Linked DNA regions of Homo sapiens: region 2 is linked to region 1. Evidence: promoter capture Hi-C in human tissues and cell types (Jung and others, 2019). All regions are on one chromosome and are shown on one strand. The core of a region is centred on a gene start or on the middle of the fragment in contact, and the rest is flanking DNA. Distances in the headings are between cores, read along the strand shown.

Evidence for each region. The method cuts DNA at HindIII sites, captures the fragments that hold promoters and counts their contacts. A contact is called where the count stands out against the background at its distance.
Region 2: a contact is called between a fragment that was not itself captured here and the fragment with the promoter of CYP1A2 in region 1, in 2 of the 25 tissues and cell types used here (heart right ventricle and spleen).

What each region holds. Positions count from the first base shown.
Region 1 is chr15:74,747,147-74,751,120 of GRCh38, forward strand. It overlaps CYP1A2 (cytochrome P450 family 1 subfamily A member 2), which reads left to right and starts at 1,699. Exons shown (of 7, transcript NM_000761.5): 1 at 1,699-1,751; 2 at 2,584-3,423. The coding sequence starts at 2,593. RefSeq lists a cis regulatory region at 1-368 and promoters at 1-1,789, 1,455-2,592. The HindIII fragment of the contact is 12,167 bases long and covers 1-3,869 here.
Region 2 is chr15:74,647,702-74,651,675 of GRCh38, forward strand. The region is part of intron 4 of EDC3 (enhancer of mRNA decapping 3); the gene reads right to left. Among named protein-coding and RNA genes, the nearest start is that of CLK3, 34 kb to the left of the region's middle. The HindIII fragment of the contact is 6,435 bases long and covers 1-3,974 here.

The sequences.
Region 1 (3,974 bases), core at 449-2,948:
TAAAAAAATTAGCCAGGCATGGTGCACACACCTGTGATTGTGGTCCCAGCTACTCAGGAGGCTGAGGCAAGAGGATTGTTTGAGCTCAGGAGGTCGAGGCTGCAGTGAGCCATGATTGTGGCACATGAACCCCAACCTGGGTGACAGAGCAAGACTCTGTATCTAAAAAAAAAAAAAAAAGATAGCAAACTTCCTTTTCACATCCAATTTAAGGCTTGTCCTCCTCCTCCTCTTAGATCTGACTGAGATCTGGGTCCATATTAAAGACTCCTTTAGTACAACAAACACCATATATCCTCACGTAAGTCCATGAATATCTGACATTTCTCATATCTACTTTCTCTCGATTTATTGATAGATAGGTATACATTGTTTTAATTTTATGGGTACATAGTAGGTGTATATATGTATGGGGTACATGAAATGTTTTGATACAGGCATGCAATATGAAATAAGCATTCATGGAGAATGGAGTATCCATCCCCTCAAGCAAGGATAAACCTTTGAGTTACAAACAATCCAATTACACTCTTTAAAGGTGTACATTTTTTTTTTTTTTGAGACGGAGTCTCACTCTGTCGCCCAGGCTGGAGTGGAGTGGCACGATCTTGGCTCACTGCAGCCTCCACCTCCCAAGTTCAAGCCATTCTCCTGCCTCAGCCTCCCGAGTAGCTGGGATCACAGGCACATGCCACCATGCCTGGCTAATTTTTGTATTTTTAGTAGAGACGGAGTTTCACCAGGTTGGCCAGGCTGGTCTTGAACACCTGATCTCAGGTGATCCGCCCATCTCGGCCTCTCAAAGTGCTGGGATTACAGGTGCGAGCCATCGCGCCTGGCCTAGAGGTGTACATTTTTTAACAGAACCATTCAAAAGGAGGTTGTGGGGATCATGACACTTCCATGCTACAGCATTAATCTCCTAAGAATAAGGATACACTCCCACATACCATGACACTCTGTTCACACCTAAAAAAATTTACATTTATTCCAGAATATCATCTAATCTCCAGTCCGTGCTTACATGTCCCCAATTGTCCCCAAAACATCTTTTATAGATTTTTTTAAAATTTTGTTTAAATGCCATATCCAATCGATATGGCAATCAAATGCAAATCCATATTGCATTTGGTTATGTCTCTTAGTCTTTTTGCATAAGGGGGGCCTCTCTTTAGGATGCAAAATCTTTATCATCTCTTCTTTTCCACTTGGGGACTTGGGCTGAAAATCAGGAGTGGCTGGAACACGCCCATTTACTGTTTGGTTTTGCAGGTTGTTGGAGGGTACTACAGAAGAACATCCCTCTGGAGAGGGGCCGTGAGCCTGGTTGGCCTAGACTGAGTGCCCTGGCAGAGCTCTTCCTCATGTGTGCAGTGGGAAAGAAGCCCAGATCAGTCCAAAGGCCTAACCCCCACTCCCAGACCCTACCCTACTCTTCAGAGAAATAGGCTCCCTACCCTGAACCCTAAAGACAGCTGTACCTTCATCCCCAGGGACCCAGCACCCCTTCTGGCCTATCCCCAAAGAGTCACCCTGGGTCTTAGGTAGTAGGTGGAGCTGAGGGATAATGGCCCAAGGCCAAGAGTTGATCCTTCCAACTTTGTTCAGTGATCCAGCTTTCATATCAGGTGATCAGGACAACCAGGCCAATCTGATAGGGGGCGGTGTTTATAAAAAGGCCACTCACCTAGAGCCAGAAGCTCCACACCAGCCATTACAACCCTGCCAATCTCAAGCACCTGCCTCTACAGGTACCTTTCTTGGGACCAATTTACAATCTCTGGGATCCCCAACTATAGAACCTGGAAGCTAGTGGGGACAGAAAGACGGGGAGCCTGGGCTAGGTGTAGGGGTCCTGAGTTCCGGGCTTTGCTACCCAGCTCTTGACTTCTGTTTCCCGATTTTAAATGAGCAGTTTGGACTAAGCCATTTTTAAGGAGAGCGATGGGGAGGGCTTCCCCCTTAGCACAAGGGCAGCCCTGGCCCTGGCTGAAGCCCAACCCCAACCTCCAAGACTGTGAGAGGATGGGGACTCATCCCTGGAGGAGGTGCCCCTCCTGGTATTGATAAAGAATGCCCTGGGGAGGGGGCATCACAGGCTATTTGAACCAGCCCTGGGACCTTGGCCACCTCAGTGTCACTGGGTAGGGGGAACTCCTGGTCCCTTGGGTATATGGAAGGTATCAGCAGAAAGCCAGCACTGGCAGGGACTCTTTGGTACAATACCCAGCATGCATGCTGTGCCAGGGGCTGACAAGGGTGCTGTCCTTGGCTTCCCCATTTTGGAGTGGTCACTTGCCTCTACTCCAGCCCCAGAAGTGGAAACTGAGATGATGTGTGGAGGAGAGAGCCAGCGTTCATGTTGGGAATCTTGAGGCTCCTTTCCAGCTCTCAGATTCTGTGATGCTCAAAGGGTGAGCTCTGTGGGCCCAGGACGCATGGTAGATGGAGCTTAGTCTTTCTGGTATCCAGCTGGGAGCCAAGCACAGAACACGCATCAGTGTTTATCAAATGACTGAGGAAATGAATGAATGAATGTCTCCATCTCAACCCTCAGCCTGGTCCCTCCTTTTTTCCCTGCAGTTGGTACAGATGGCATTGTCCCAGTCTGTTCCCTTCTCGGCCACAGAGCTTCTCCTGGCCTCTGCCATCTTCTGCCTGGTATTCTGGGTGCTCAAGGGTTTGAGGCCTCGGGTCCCCAAAGGCCTGAAAAGTCCACCAGAGCCATGGGGCTGGCCCTTGCTCGGGCATGTGCTGACCCTGGGGAAGAACCCGCACCTGGCACTGTCAAGGATGAGCCAGCGCTACGGGGACGTCCTGCAGATCCGCATTGGCTCCACGCCCGTGCTGGTGCTGAGCCGCCTGGACACCATCCGGCAGGCCCTGGTGCGGCAGGGCGACGATTTCAAGGGCCGGCCTGACCTCTACACCTCCACCCTCATCACTGATGGCCAGAGCTTGACCTTCAGCACAGACTCTGGACCGGTGTGGGCTGCCCGCCGGCGCCTGGCCCAGAATGCCCTCAACACCTTCTCCATCGCCTCTGACCCAGCTTCCTCATCCTCCTGCTACCTGGAGGAGCATGTGAGCAAGGAGGCTAAGGCCCTGATCAGCAGGTTGCAGGAGCTGATGGCAGGGCCTGGGCACTTCGACCCTTACAATCAGGTGGTGGTGTCAGTGGCCAACGTCATTGGTGCCATGTGCTTCGGACAGCACTTCCCTGAGAGTAGCGATGAGATGCTCAGCCTCGTGAAGAACACTCATGAGTTCGTGGAGACTGCCTCCTCCGGGAACCCCCTGGACTTCTTCCCCATCCTTCGCTACCTGCCTAACCCTGCCCTGCAGAGGTTCAAGGCCTTCAACCAGAGGTTCCTGTGGTTCCTGCAGAAAACAGTCCAGGAGCACTATCAGGACTTTGACAAGGTGAGCCCGGGGTGCAGGTGGCAAGGGGCACCTTGCAGGGCCTGGGTGCAGCCCCTCCCTCCCAGCTCCAGCATGCCCACACAGCTGCTGTGTTGCCAAGGCCTAGGAAGGCTCTGGACACCTCAGACCAGCTGTGTGACCTGGAGCCGACTCTTCCCCTTCTCTGGGCCTCAGTTTCCTCATCCTTGAAGCCCCCTTCTCAGGGCTCCTCAAAGCCCCCAAGAAAAAAGCCCTGGAAATGGGGCCCTAGCAGAGTCCTGCAATGTGGGGGGCCTATGAGTGAGAAAGCTTTCATTCTGCAGAAACCTAAACCCCAACAGAGGCTAATCCCCAGCTCTGGTGTCACGTTGCTTCCCTGTGTTCACACTAACCTTTTCCTTCTTTGAAATTGGACCCCTGGTGTTATTGGGAGGAAGGGTCAATGGGGCATAAAATGACACTTTAAGCCATACCCAGGGCTGCTACCAGCTCCTGCTGCAAGCTGCAACCCCCTGCCTAGAGACCAAGTTGGGAGGATAGGGGGGTACCCAGCCACCAGGTACAGGCCAGGG
Region 2 (3,974 bases), core at 970-3,469, 99 kb before region 1:
TTCTTCCACACCTGGCACTGAAGGATCTGCTAGAGCCTGAGGTTCCCCAACTCAACCAAGTCACTGGCAGGGAAGTCTGCCTGCTGGAGACACAAATTTAGAAACTAGGCTCATTAGCTGTGTTCAGTGAAAAGTTGTGACACTTCGCAGAGGAGCACAGGTTTATCCAGTGCAGGTGTTCTGTCCAGAACACCACCCAGAATTTATTTCCTGATGTCTCCCAGAATAACATCCTTGTGGCACCTGATCTAATCCATACACATACCGTTGGGGAATGAAGTTGGGGAGGGGGTTATGGGGAGACAAGGCAGGACCCTGCATGGGTTGGGTCTATGGGTGAGAAGGCAATGAGATGCTGACCAGCTCCATGGTGGTAGACACTTGATTCTCTCAATGGGAAGAATTATCTGCAAGAGTACAACAGCTGCCAAAGGAGACCTCACTACCTCCAGGTAAAATTCTTCAGTGGCACTTCTAAACTCCAAGATTTATTTCTTCCTGAATTCCTTTTGAACACACATGCAAAAAAATCAAAACAGATTTCTTGACTACCTATTTTTGAGGAGATAAAAACACTGCTGGTCTTGAAAGCCTTAGATTACTTCTAGAGGGACTCTTGGTGACAAGAAGCAGAGGAAGGCAGCTACGGCTCAGAGGCAGGAATGGAATGCCAGCTGTGAAAGAGACAACTGCTAGCCTGGAATTTTCTGAAAGCCAAACTTGTCCTAAGAGCTAGATACATCCCCACCAAGGCTCAAAGACTTAGCCGGCCAGCGTGAGAAGAGTAGAGTCACAAAGCCACAGGAACAAATCATTTGTGGCTTCACCAGCTGCCTCCCTTCCTAGCAGAAACCAGAACTGCCTTTTCCAAAAGAAATGAGTATTGGTAAAAGGTGCTGGAGCTCAGACCAGAGCACCTCACTCAAGCTTAACTGGATCCTTTTTAAGGAAATAAATAGGAACTCTAGTTCGGGTCATCCTCACACACTTCCTGTTCCCTAAATCTCAGCGCACAGTGTGGAAGTGGATCATCCTTCAGGCAAAGCTGCAGAGATGCCTGCACCAAGAGCACCCTACTGCCTCCCATCTGGGCTTTTACATACTTGAGGACAGAAGAGGGCTGCACAGTAGAAAACAAATGGTGGAGGTTAAAGAAGTCTACCCAGAAGGAAAGGCTCATGAATAGAGAATTTATTACAACAGAGGGAAGGAAGAATTCTAGTCATTTTTTTTAAACGTTGAGATAGGATCTTGCTATGTTGCCCAGGCTGGTCTTGAATTCCTGGCCTCAAGCAATCCCCCAACCTGTGCCTCCCGAGTAGCTGGGACCACAGGCACATACCATCACACCCTGGCTAATTTTTTTTTTTTTTTTTTTTTTGAGACAGAGTCTCACTCTGTCGCCCAGGCTGGAGTGCAGTGGCACAATCTCAGCTCACTGCAAGCTCCGCCTCCCAGGTTCACGCCATTCTCCTGCCTCAGCCTCCCAAGTAGCTGGGACTACAGGCACCTGCCACCACGCCCGGCTAATTTTTTTTTTGTTATTTTTAGTAGAGACGGGGTTTCACCGTGTTAGCACCCTGGCTAATTTTTTATTTTTATTTTTTTGTAGAGATGGGGTCTCATTATGTTGCTTAGGCCAGGCTCAAGCGAGCCAGCCTCCTGCCTCAGCCTCCCAAAGTGGTGGGATTACAGGTGTGAGCCACTGCAGCCAACTACACTTCTGTTATTAGTATATTTACATATTTGGTTCAGTTATACTCAGAGGCCCCTAAGGTGATGAACTATGACTTACCCAGAGTATTTAAAACAGTGTCTGGCACATAGTAGGTATTCTATAAATGCTGATGCTTTGAAATAATCTTACTGAGGTGGCCTTTGCAAATTCACATTTGAAGTCAAATATTTACTGAATAATAATTACAGATTGGGTATTGTGCTAGCTACTTTTCCACATAATCTCATTTAATCCACAGTATTAGCCCACTTTATAGATAAGGAAACCAGCTTAGTAGCCTCTCTTTGGCTATATAACTTTTAACTCCTCATTAAAGCTCTTAATAACCAATAACTCCCACATCTCCCTATCCCTCATTGTAGCAACTCTTGCCTTTGCTTTCTCTGGGCTCAGGCACAAAGCATTGCAGGAGGGAAAAAAAGGGGGGGGGGGTCACAAAACCATGTAGGCTTGGCCCACTATAAATTCGTGCAATCTCATGATAACTTGACTTGCTGCCATTCTTCCTGCCTCACAGGTTCAATACCTCCAAATCCTCCTGTTCACTCAACCCTGTTTTCAATCATCATAGCCTATCAAATTGCCCTCTGTTGCTTCCCTCATATCTTTGTGTTCCTTTCCATTCAATGGTCTAAATCCCTAGTATGTAAACTACATCATGAGCATGACTGGTCCTGCTCTGGTCTCTTCTCTCCCCTCTCGTTCCACCTGGAATCCTACCACAAGACCAGTCTTCCTAAAAGAGATTTGGATCATGTCATTTTCCTATCCAAAAGCCTTCAGTTGTTCCCTATGACTACAGGACAAGGATAGCACTGGCACACAAGGCCCTCTATGCTCTGGTCCAAAGCTATATTTTAGTTCCTTCTACTCCCCAGCACAAACTCTCTGCCCTGGCCAAGCCAGCTAATGACCAGTCTCCCACACAGCCCTTTACTCATACTATTCACCTGCACCTGCCTAGCCTACCCATGAATATCTTCCTCTTTCTCTCTGCCTGGTGAAATCCTGCCCATGTTTCAAGGCTTCCATCATGAAGCCTTCCTTGATGCAGCCTACAGGACCTCTCCTGCCTCTCAACACCTAGTGCACTTAATGTCCACACTTTCACTGGACTCTGGGCATATATGGAATCTTTCCATCTCCTATTACATTTTCATAACTTAAAGGCAAGGACTATCTTAGAGTCAGTTACACATAATAAACATAATAAACACAGTGTTTTGACTGACCCAAACTGTCTTAAAGTATTTCCTTTAGAATACCATGAGTGTTAGGCCAGGCGCGGTGGCTCATGCCTGTAATCCCAGCACTTTGGAAGGACAAGGTGGGCAGATCACCTGAGATCAGGAATTCGAGACCAGCCTGGCCAATATGGTGAAACCCCATCTCTACTAAAAATACAAAAATTTGCCAGGTGTGGTGGTGTGTGCCTGTAATCCCAGCTACATGGGAGGCTAAGGCAGGAGAATCACTTGAACTCAGTAGGTGGAGGTTGCAGTGAGCTGATACTGCACTACTGCACTCCAGCCTGGGTGCCAGAGTAAGACTCTGTCTCAAAAAATAATAATAAAATTTAAAAAAAAATTAAAAAAAGAATCTTATGAGTGTTGAATAAAGATTCTTCTCTGAAGCCTTACCACTTTACTAAGCAGTATTCTTTGGGGAGTTCTCACCACTGAACACAGAGTGCTCACACACATCTAGTGTTTTATATTTAAACTTAACACATGCACGTAGAATCAGTCTTCAAAGAATTTCAAATTACAAGTCTGGATCCAGAAAGACCCTGGCCAATCCAGAGTGTGATCACTGGACACCATTATTTAGCAGGGCAGGCCCAAGCTAGAGAAATGTCTGATGATCCGTGACTGCGGGAGACAGAAGCCCTGCCAAAGAACCTGAAAGGAATTTCCAGAGAGAAAAAATTGGGGTTAAACAAAGAGCTAAATTTAGTTGCTTCCTGAATGTGTTTTCCCAATCAATAGACCTAAAACAACACTGTTCCCCATCACAACACACACAGCTGGCAAAGAGTACTGCCAAGAGGAGTATGAGCAATTAGTGAATAATAGCTTATGTACTGTTGGTTGACACCACTTAGCATGAAGTCAATATATAGGGCACCAGCAGCAAGCTGTCAGAATCCTAAATCCCAAGCCATCACCAAATGGGTAATAAATATGTTGTTCTTTTGCTACCATGGGGATTAGTACAAAAGTACTTGGTATTCTAG